3 separate regions of the Homo sapiens genome follow, and all the other regions are linked to region 3. Evidence: promoter capture Hi-C in 16 types of primary human blood cells and fetal thymus (Javierre and others, 2016). All regions are on one chromosome and are shown on one strand. Each heading gives the region's core, a stretch centred on a gene start or on the middle of the fragment in contact. The rest is flanking DNA. Distances are from core to core; before and after follow the strand shown.

Region 1 (3,066 bases), core at 371-2,870, 410 kb before region 3:
GAAAAGCCCACAGACCCCAAGCTCCTGCCACCCCACTCACCCCTCTCCTCTGGATGGCCTTCCGGATCAGAGCCACAACGTCTCTGCCTTCCACTCCACTGGACTTGAATCCCTTGGTCCATGAGACCAGGAAACTCTGGAAAGGGACCAAGAAGTGAATATTGATTTCCCACTAAAACTGAAACTCACACCACACCCCTCAAACCTCCGTCATTAGCAGAGACCTCTGCCACTGGGGTAAAGTCATGATTGAATTTGTGTGTTACTTCCTGGCTAGCCTAGGAAAAAGAAACTCAGGACAACTGGCACTATAAGACACAGTCATGTGCCGCATAACAATGTTTCAGTCAGTGACAGATTGTGTATACTGCGGTGGTAACAAGATTATAATAGAGCTGAAAAGTTCCTATTGCCTAGTTAGATACACAGATATCACTGTGTTACAATTGCCTATAGCATTCAGTACAGTAACATGCTATACAGATTTGTGGCCTAGGAGTTAACAGGCTGTCCCATACAGCCTAGGTGTGTAGTAGTCTATACCATCTAGGTTTGTGTAAGTGCACTCTATGATGTTTATACATAAGTGAAATCACCTAATAAAGCATTTCTCAGAACATATCCCCATTGTTATGCAATACATGACTGTACTTGTGTCCTTACATCATTAACTCTCCAAGTATCTTTCTTCCAAGGGTCTTTATCATAACACTTTAGACTGGGGAGTTCCTGATTTCTCATTCCTGTTTCTGTGGAGGGGATAAGGATACTGTGCAATGTGTGTGGGAGAGAGGGTGATAAAGGGCACTCCCAACCCCCCAGATTTCTTCACCAGCCCCCCCATCGACATACACAGTCACCCAGAAAGGCAGAACTTCATCTCCACAATCCTCCAGTGCTACCACCACCACCACAGCAGGTGGCTCAGAAGTCCCTCTCAGCCCTCCCAGCCCCAAGAGTGAAGCAACAAGTGTCTGAGGAGCCCATCTTACCTCGTCTAGTTTAGTCTGGTGGCAGGGGAACGAGAAGGTAAAACCCAGTGGGAGCTTCTTGTCTTTGATTTGTAGCTTATCCATGAAGTTAGCCAGGCATTCGGCAATGTGGTCAAACAGCTAAGGATACATGACACAGGGTGGTGAGCAGAGAGGTCGAACAGCATAGAGATTAAGGGCATGCACTTCAGGCTCAGCACGTAACTAGCTGAATGTGTGCAAAACCCATATCTCCTCTGATATCTTCATTTGCTCACCTACAAAAAGGGAATTATAACTGGACCTGTCCTCATGGAGTTATGAAAAGGAGTACATGAGTCAATACATAAAGGCTTAACATTAGTTTTTGCCCACTAAATATTGTCCTCTACTTAAGCCATTTTTCTAAACTGCTGTCAAGATAACCCTGTGAGGTAGGGGAAATCATGGCCAACATTAATCAGAAAGTCACTTCATGCCCGGGGAACAGAACATTCTTTGGTGGCCCTGTCAGAAACCCATTGACATGGAAGCCCAGTTGACGATCATACCAAAGGCCAGCCCATCTTGCTGCCAAGAAGTATTTTAGTATCCCTGTCTCTGGTGATGGGGTGGGGGGTGGTTTGCAGGGACAGCATTCTCTGTTGGCATTCTATGAACCAACTTAACAAAAACAAGTAATTTTTATATTTTTTTCTCCATTCTAGAAAACTAATCTCCTGAGGGCAATTCAAAGAAGTTATCTTTGTTTTCTAACTTTCTAAACAGAACATCCAGTAAGTCCATGAAGAGCGCTGAGAAATAAATCACATTTTGTGGGTGAGCAGCCTCACAACCGTGACCGCACGCACTCACTGTGCAGGACCCAGAGCTCCTAAGCCTTAAAAAAGCTGTATTCATAATAAGCCAGGCTTTCAATCAGCCCCAAAGCCCACAATCCCCTGGCGTCCTTCTTGCCCCACCCTACACGCTCAAAGAGAAGCTGCTGACCCTTTAGGTGAAGGCTGAGACTAGAGGCATTCAGGTGTAAAAAGTAAGCAGAGGCCAAAGAGGCTGGGCAGATTCCAAGGGCCAGGTTGACTACGTGGCAAAATCTAAAAGCCAAGGTGGATAAGAGGTCAACTATCCTTTTCCTATCCAGGAAGGTGCAAGAAGATTCGACTAAACCATGGCTTTTCAAAGTGTGCTCCTGGAACAGCAACCTCACTCCCTTAACCTGGGAACATGTTAGAAATGTACATTCTAGGGTCTAGGCCCGCCCCCACAGACCGACTATAGCAGAAACTCTGGGGGTGGGGCCCAGCCATCTGTTAGCAAGCCTTCCGCCCTCCAGGTGATCCTGGAGCAGTAGGTTGAGAACCACTATGCCAAACCACAGAAAGTTCTTACATTTATAAAGGAACTGAGAGGTTGGGAGAGGGAAACTGACAGACCTGTTGGATCTCCTGATGCCTAGGGTATGGTCAGCAGGAGGGACCCAGGAAGACAAGGCCACCCCAATCTGGAAGATGGCCAGATCTAACTAAACTTCCCACATCCATTCTGTCTGTCCCTCTGTCTGATCCCATGCAAAGTTAACAACAGCTGAGGCTGAACCTTCGACCTCCAAACCAAAACATTTTCAAGAGCAAAGGCTGGGGAGGACAAGGCTCTCTTGCCATGGGGATCACCAGTGCAGGTGAGCCAACTCCCTTGAACAGAGTTCAAGTATTTTAACATGAAAATAGGGATATATTCAGCAAATTCTGTTCTGTCGGGAAGGTGACTAGAGATGAATTATATGATACGTATATTAAACAAATTCCCAGCACCTTCTTCCTGGCACTCTAGTCAAAATGATCTTTAGTACAAATAGTTTTTATCCCAAAAAAAAAAAAAAAAAAAAAGGGAGATGCAGAAGTTGTGCAAAGAGATAAGGCCAATCATCAAAGACTGGAGGTGGGGGTTAGAAGGGGGAAAAGCAAAATGGTTTCTCCTCCCCCAGCTCTGATCACTGCTTTCTTTCCAGTTGCGCTCCTAACATAGGAAGGTAGAGAAAAATAGACCGTGAAGAAGCATTAAATACTGCCCTGCCCAATATAGTAGCCACTGGCCA
Region 2 (3,208 bases), core at 491-2,990, 480 kb after region 3:
CTTAACATTGTACCATAGGCATTTCCCTGTTTGGTATACAGTTTTCAGAAAGTGTGACAGTGAGGTGAAGAAGATGGCTCAGGAGCCAGAGAACTCTGGCTTCCAAACCTGAATCTGCCACTTGGTAACAGTGTGACCTTGGACTAGGTACTCCATCTTCAAGGGAATCCAAGTAAAAGACTTAATATAGGGCTCAATGAATGACAACAACTAATATTGTTTAATCCATATGACAACCTTGTGAGGTAGGTACTATCATCAAACCCATTTTATGGATAAGAAAACAGATTAAATAACTTGCCCAGGATCACTCAGCTAGTAAGTTGTGGACTTTCAGAGGAGCCCAGCAGCCATCCTCTTGTATTCTGTCTGGGTAAATGGCACCAGCAAGTTACTGTGTCATTTACTCTTTGCCAGCAATCTATGAGAGGGTCATTTCATAAAGCCCTCTCGTTTAGGTAACTGGGTGAATGCTGGTGCCATTCACTGTGACAAAATGCAGAAGGAAGGATGCCTGGGGATGGAGACATTCGTGTGAAAGTGAGTGTGCAACTGAGGGGGTGAGGCCTGGGTTTGAGATTTGGGCCCCATCAGTGAGCAGACAGCGAGGCCTCAGTTGTGGAGGAGCTCATCCAGGGTGGATATGGAGTGTGAGAGGGAAAGGCTGCCAGGACAGAGCCCCAGGGAATACCAGCCCATGAGGGACAGGAGCTGAGAAGGCGCCGCCAGAGAGGTTGGAGGGAACCCAGCCAGGCTAGAGAGCTGCCTGTCATATCTTCCCGGCCTCTGGAACCTTACACTTCGGCAGTCCTGTTGCTCATTCCTTCTGCCTGGGGAAAAACCCTTCCCACCCCACCCCTTCTCAGCTACCCCTTGTACCTGCCAAATTCCCACTCATCCTGCAAGTCATAAGTGCCAGTTCCATGAAACCTCCAGCTGCTCAGATGATTCCAGAGCCCCACCCACTCTCCCTCCACAGAAGTTTGACTCTCCCTGCCTAGGAACAGTTATCTCATCGGCGCTGGGCACTGGAATGGTTTGCATGTTTCTTTCCCAGTTACTACAAACTCCTGGAAGGGTAGCACGCTGTCTTTCACCTCATAACCCTAGACCTAGCAACCAACCACTGTGTTGAATGAAGAGACGAGGTGAGTAGACCCTAATGAATGACAGACCCCAGTAACACTGAAGACCCATAGGCTTCTTTCCTGCTTTCTTTACGACTTGCACAAACTGGTCAGGGGCGCCCAAGATAAAACAGCCTAAACTCCTCAGGTCCTGCCTTCTGGTTCTCCAGCCTCCTGGGCTGCTGCGGCTATTCCCATTCACATTGCGCTCAGGGCAGGAGAGCAGCGGGGGTGGGCGTAGGGATAGGGCGAGCCCTTCCTGGGGCTGCATTAGCCTAGACGCAGTGGTTCCGCCAAGAGAGCCCCGGCACCAGCAGCATCACCATCTCCTGGGAACTGGCTAGAAATGCAAGCTCTCGGCCCCATCCTAACCCCACTGAATCAGAAACCCTGGGGGCGGGCCCAGCAATCTGTTTTAATTAGTCCGTCAGGTGAAGTCAAGTTAGAGCAGCACTGGACTACAGCAAGCGGGGGAGAAGGAAGTTCAGCACCCAGGTGGAGACTGCGATTAGGCCCCCAAGGCGCTTAGAGCAGACAGAGGGAGAGAGGCTCCTTTTAGGAGCGGGTTTGGCGGGCGCCACCCCAAGCGGCCAAGGGCGGAGCCTCTTTTAGGCGACTGCTCCCGCGAGGTCAGAGCCGGGCTGTGCCGCTGCCCCCGGGACTAGAAAGGGAAATCTCCTTGCTAGAGGAGGAAGCCCTAAGAACTCAAGGGAGATAGGGGTGGCAGGGGCATTTCCCTGGATGCCTGGAGCATGGAGGGTGCGAAATAAGGAGGCTTTCCTACCCCATTGATGAGCTGAAGTTGATTCCGCACGGGGGAGGAAAGGGACAGGAAGCATAATTGGATGTGCAAGCCTGTGGTTCTTCAGGAAGTTAACACGTGGAACTAACACTGTTGGATGCTGCTGAACTCTCAGGTGATTGATGTGACTAACCTCCTCAGGTACTTGACCTCTCTCCTCTTCAGCTAATGAGTAATTTGTCCTTATTTAAGAATGAGATTTGCGTATGGGGACCTTTTGCAGAAATGTAAATACATCCCGATATCCATACCTGGGCTTGGTTTTAAAGACTGAAGGTATTGGGAGGTTTATTTGATTTTGGATGTATTACTTCTTTGGTCATGTATTGGCTAAAAATATTATCAACTAATATTTGCATAGATCTTTCCCTTTTCAAAGCACTTCCACACACATTATCCTTCTGTCTGCACAGAGTGGCAAATACAACAAATGTGCAAATGTTAACTTTCCTTATCTATGACATAGTTTTTATTATCATCACCATTTTACAGATAAGAGAACTGGCGCTCAGTGAGGTAATTTGTCCAAGGTCATTCACTACTACATGTCAGAATCCAGGACCTACAATCCAGGACCTCTGAAATTAGCCCACGAATGCTAGAGCTGATACCAGGCAGAAGCTGGCATTTTGCTCTCAGGGAAAGGGAGGTTCATTAGTGGGTTGCTTGTGGACCTGCATTGGTGAGTGTGACACGTGTAGGATATCTATGCTATGCGTTTTTGGGTTTTTTGTTTTGTTTTGGTTTTGGGTTTTGGTTTTTTTTTTTTCTTTGAGATGGAGTCTCACTCTTGTCACCCAGGCTGAAGTGCAGTGGCGCGATCTGGGCTCACTGTAACCTCTGCTGCCCAGGTTCAAATGATTCTCCTGCCTCAGACTCTCGAGTAGCTGGGATTACAGGCACCTGCCACCGCGCCCAGCTAATTTTTGTAGTTTTAGTAGAGACTGGTCTTGAACTCCTGACCTCATGATCCACCCACCTCGACCTCCCAAACTGCTGGGATTACATGAGTGAGCCACCGCGCCCGGCTACTACGTTTTTCAATAGCCCCGCAAATGTCCTCATGTTTTATAACTAGTTTTGTGACTGCATTTTGAATTTTTTGAATCAAATAGGCTTCATTACTTGCAAGGAGAATGCAAGGGTACCCATCATAATGGAAGGAATACCCAACAGGGATAAAGGCCTTGGTGCCCCTGAGCCTTGGTTGACAGGGTGTATCAGTCAGGATCAGTTAGATTGTGCTGGAGTAATAGACAATCCCCAAATCACAGTGGCT
Region 3 (3,402 bases), core at 822-3,321:
CGGAGTCGCCAGTTAAACGGCGATAGCGGCAGGAGGGGGGTGTGGAGGCAGGGGTCACCCCTGCCCCGGGCTCACCCTCCTGATGAGGGGGGGCACTCTGGTGGGAGGAAACACCTTCCACATTTGTTCCTTCAAAGTGGGCAGGGCAGCTGGATGAGGAGGAACAGCAGGTTTGTTCACTGGAAGCAGTCAAGGGGCGGCCTGGGGCCACAGTATAAGGGGGGGGTGGTGTGCCTGGGCGGTGAACCACATCCTCGTAGGCTGGGGGCTTGAAGGTGCTGAGGAAGCCTGCAGGGGAGAAAATTGGCATGATTGGTTGAAGACAACCAGGTATAGGGTGCTAGTTTTTATATTAGGGAAAAATACTTTGAAATGTGTGGAAAAGGGAATGTGAGACGATTTGGGGTTCTGGTTTGGGGAGGGCCACTGGTAGCTGACCCAGGGCATCAAGTCACTCACGAAGGTCAAGCAGTGAACCGGTAGGGAAAGGACCAGCCCCATGGCATGCCCCATGATAGGCCAACAAGTTGATTTCACGCTGCCGCTGCTGTTGTTGCAGCCTGAGTTTAGCTCGTCGGTGGCGGAAGGCGCAACAGCAGCTAAAGAGGATGAGGACAGTCCAGAGCAGCCAGAACCCTGCAAGAGGCAAGGAGGGAGCAACTCAGGCATCTTTCATGCAGAGAAGGGGCCCTGAAGGCCGAAATTCTGAGGTCCAAGGGAGGGTGGACACAGGGACCTGGAAATAGCCCTCTTGGAGACTTACACCAGAGCTCATAGTAGTAGGTGCAGCAGCCAGTCTCCCCGCAGCAGTGACCACTCTCACAGAGGTAGGGCTGGTTGTTCACTCCTGGGCACAGCTCTCGAAGCTGCGGGCAAGGAGGCACTTAGAACTAAGGGGGATTCCAGCCCAGGGCACTGTCCACCCCCACCTCCTGCATGCACATACACAATCCCACCCTGTGAACCAAGTTCAGCTTGGAGAGATGGGGGAAGTGGAGGATGCTGAGAGGAGTGTTGAAATATCTGAAGGGCTGTCAACGTGGAAGAGGATTTGGAATAGCAAGAATCAGTCTAGAGAACAAGACAAAAGTGTGGACATACAAAGAGGGAGATTTCAGCTCTGCATATATGAGACTTCCTTCACACTCAAGCCTCACTCTCCCCAACCCCCCTACCCCCATCCCCTCGGTGCTTTCTGTTAAGGGAGTGTTTTGGCAGAAGCCAGAAGACAGTCTGAGATAATCTCAGTCTCAGACAACGGGTAGCGGTAGGTCATTTCCAAAGCAAGTTGCTTTCATTATCCTGCGCGGTTCACTACCCCCCACCCGCAACTGGATCTTTCCACCCCTGGGCCTCAGGCTCCCTAGGATAGAGGAGGGGCAGTGTGAGACCCAGAGCAGTGCTCCCAACCAGATGGGATTGCTGTGGATGATAAAGGATGGCATCCAGGGCGCGAGTCTGGGTTCCAGCTCTTCTCCAAATTGCTCCCTCAAGAGAAGACGCTGCCGGACTCTGTTGTGACAATAGGCACATAGAAAAAGATCACAAATAACTGTTGCAAGACAGAGGGAGCCTCCCTGGGACCTCACTATGCCTCTGGTCACTGGAGAGCCACCGCAAGCTTCCACTGCAGCCATGGGATGGGTTCTATGAGGCTACAGGCAAAGTCAGCTGCATCTACGTTACAAAGTTTAGACAAAGAGTGGAAGAGACATGTTTAGGAACTTCACAGTACCTTTGGCTCCGTGAGTTCCTCCCCCACCCCCAAAAGGAAGGGACAAGGAAAGGGGAAAGAGACAAATGGCTGTCGTGATAGGTTTTGGAGCTATTGGGATACCTGCTGTTGCGGCGCCCGAAGTGCCCCCCAGGCCTCCTCGCTGCCGTTCCCGCTGCTGGCCCGAGCCATACCTCCACCTACAGCCCCCTGAGGACCACAGCCTCCTCTACCGCCAGCCGCCCCGCCCCTGCCACCTCTGCTGCCACCGCCATGGTCCCTGCCCGGCCCATCTTCGCTGAGGCCACCATCACTCCGCGGCCGGAGCTTCCATCCGGGCAGAACTCCACCAACTAGGACTCAGATTGCTCTGCCCTACCAATCATCATCGTCCCTTGACGGACGGGCCAATAGGAACAGATCAGAGGTTTCTCCCTGTGACCAATCCACAGCAGCGCCTCCGCCGCTCACCCAGACAACAAGAGCTTGTACAGACAAAGAGTAGGTGAAGGTTCGACCCACGGCCCTGACTGACAGCGGCAATAGCCAATACAGACAACAGAACAGGCTCTGGCATATCAACCAACGAACAGCCGCCCCGAAGAGCAAGGTTGCCGCTGATTGGCTTGCGGTATGTTTTCGGAATGACGCCAAAGGCCGAAGCACGCCAGGTAATCCCGGCTGGAAGAGGCGGAGTCCCAAAAGTCGGTCCGCTGGTTTGCAGCCTGGTTTTTTGCGGTGGTTTCCAAGCCCCAGGCATCGACGCAAGCTCCGACAGGGGCAAAATACGTGTATACCGGAGACTGGTCTGCCCACAACATCCCACTCCCCCAGTTCTGTACAAGCCGAAGCACCGGATGTAATTTAATAGGGTGGGGAAGATACTCAAGAGCGGGCATGGGACGGGGCGCAGAGTCCGGGTTAAGGGCCTTACGTAGCCAAAAGGGGGGATCCAGGACCCTCGGGCCCCCCCAGCCGCATCTGCAGGTTGATGCGGTAGCACTGAAGACTACAGAGTGCCTGGCCTGTGCGGGAGCAAGCGTAGCGGCGCGGATGGGGACAGCCGGGGACAGAGCAGCGCGGCGGCGGGCCTGAGGGGGATGGCCGCTGAGACACTGCCGTGGGGGCGGGGACGCCAGGTGGGAAGGAAAGGGTGGAACCCTGTGCTCCGCTGCAGTAGCGCACCATGGGGGCCGGAGCCGCAGCCCGCCCTCCCCGCCGCTCGCCCCGTGCGCCCCCCCGGCCTCCCCGCCCACTGGTCGCCGCAGTCTTGGTGAGGCGCTCGATAGTCTGGTTCTTGTGCTCTTCTGCCCGCCGCGCCGCCTGGAGCCGCCGCTTCCGCGCCCGCTCCTCGCGCTTCAGCAGCATCTCCTCTGTGAGGGCGGGAGGTGGGCAGCCCTCAGCTACAGGCAGCGGCAGCATAGGGGAAGGTTGACTCCGCGCCTTCTGGAGCAGAGCTCGCTAGGGAGAGACAGAGACGGGGTGCTGTCTGAAAATGGAGGAAGATGGAGAGGCGAGGTCGGCCAGATCGGGGGAGGGGAAAGAAGGGACATGGAAGGCAGGGTCTTGAGCAGTGCAGGCCTTCGGAGGCGGGATATTAATTAATGAGCACCCTCTCCAGGACACCTTCCATAGGTTCCTCTTCATAAATACTGCCTCCTCCCAGATCTCCTGACATTTAGCTTTAG

The links. The method cuts DNA at HindIII sites, captures the fragments that hold promoters and counts their contacts. A CHiCAGO score of 5 or more calls a contact.
Region 1: a fragment that was not itself captured here is called in contact with the fragment with the promoter of WBP1 in region 3 in 1 of 17 cell types (neutrophils); the score reaches 5.9 in neutrophils.
Region 2: the fragment with the promoter of DGUOK-AS1 here is called in contact with the fragment with the promoter of WBP1 in region 3 in 7 of 17 cell types (naive CD8 T cells, activated CD4 T cells, non-activated CD4 T cells and 4 more); the score reaches 7.8 in naive CD8 T cells.

The regions. Positions count from the first base shown.
Region 1 is chr2:74,870,346-74,873,411 of GRCh38, reverse strand. HK2 (hexokinase 2) reads right to left here. Exons shown (of 18, transcript NM_000189.5): 4 at 993-1,112; 5 at 41-136. Among named protein-coding and RNA genes, the nearest start is that of LINC01291, 37 kb to the left of the region's middle. The HindIII fragment of the contact is 5,523 bases long and covers 1-3,066 here.
Region 2 is chr2:73,979,971-73,983,178 of GRCh38, reverse strand. DGUOK-AS1 (DGUOK antisense RNA 1) reads left to right here and starts at 1,740. Exons shown (of 2, transcript NR_104030.1): 1 at 1,740-2,044. The HindIII fragment of the contact is 8,489 bases long and covers 1-3,208 here.
Region 3 is chr2:74,457,107-74,460,508 of GRCh38, reverse strand. It overlaps WBP1 (WW domain binding protein 1), which reads right to left and starts at 2,071. Exons shown (of 4, transcript NM_012477.4): 1 at 1,838-2,071; 2 at 764-866; 3 at 460-636; 4 at 1-288. The coding sequence starts at 1,906. INO80B (INO80 complex subunit B) reads right to left here. Exons shown (of 5, transcript NM_031288.4): 5 at 2,565-3,175. The coding sequence ends at 2,645. It overlaps INO80B-WBP1 (INO80B-WBP1 readthrough (NMD candidate)), which reads right to left. Exons shown (of 8, transcript NR_037849.1): 5 at 2,649-3,175; 6 at 764-866; 7 at 460-636; 8 at 1-288. RefSeq lists enhancers at 1,639-1,748, 1,686-2,193, 2,419-2,568, 2,194-2,700, 3,199-3,268 and a silencer at 2,819-3,058. The HindIII fragment of the contact is 3,318 bases long and covers 1,624-3,402 here.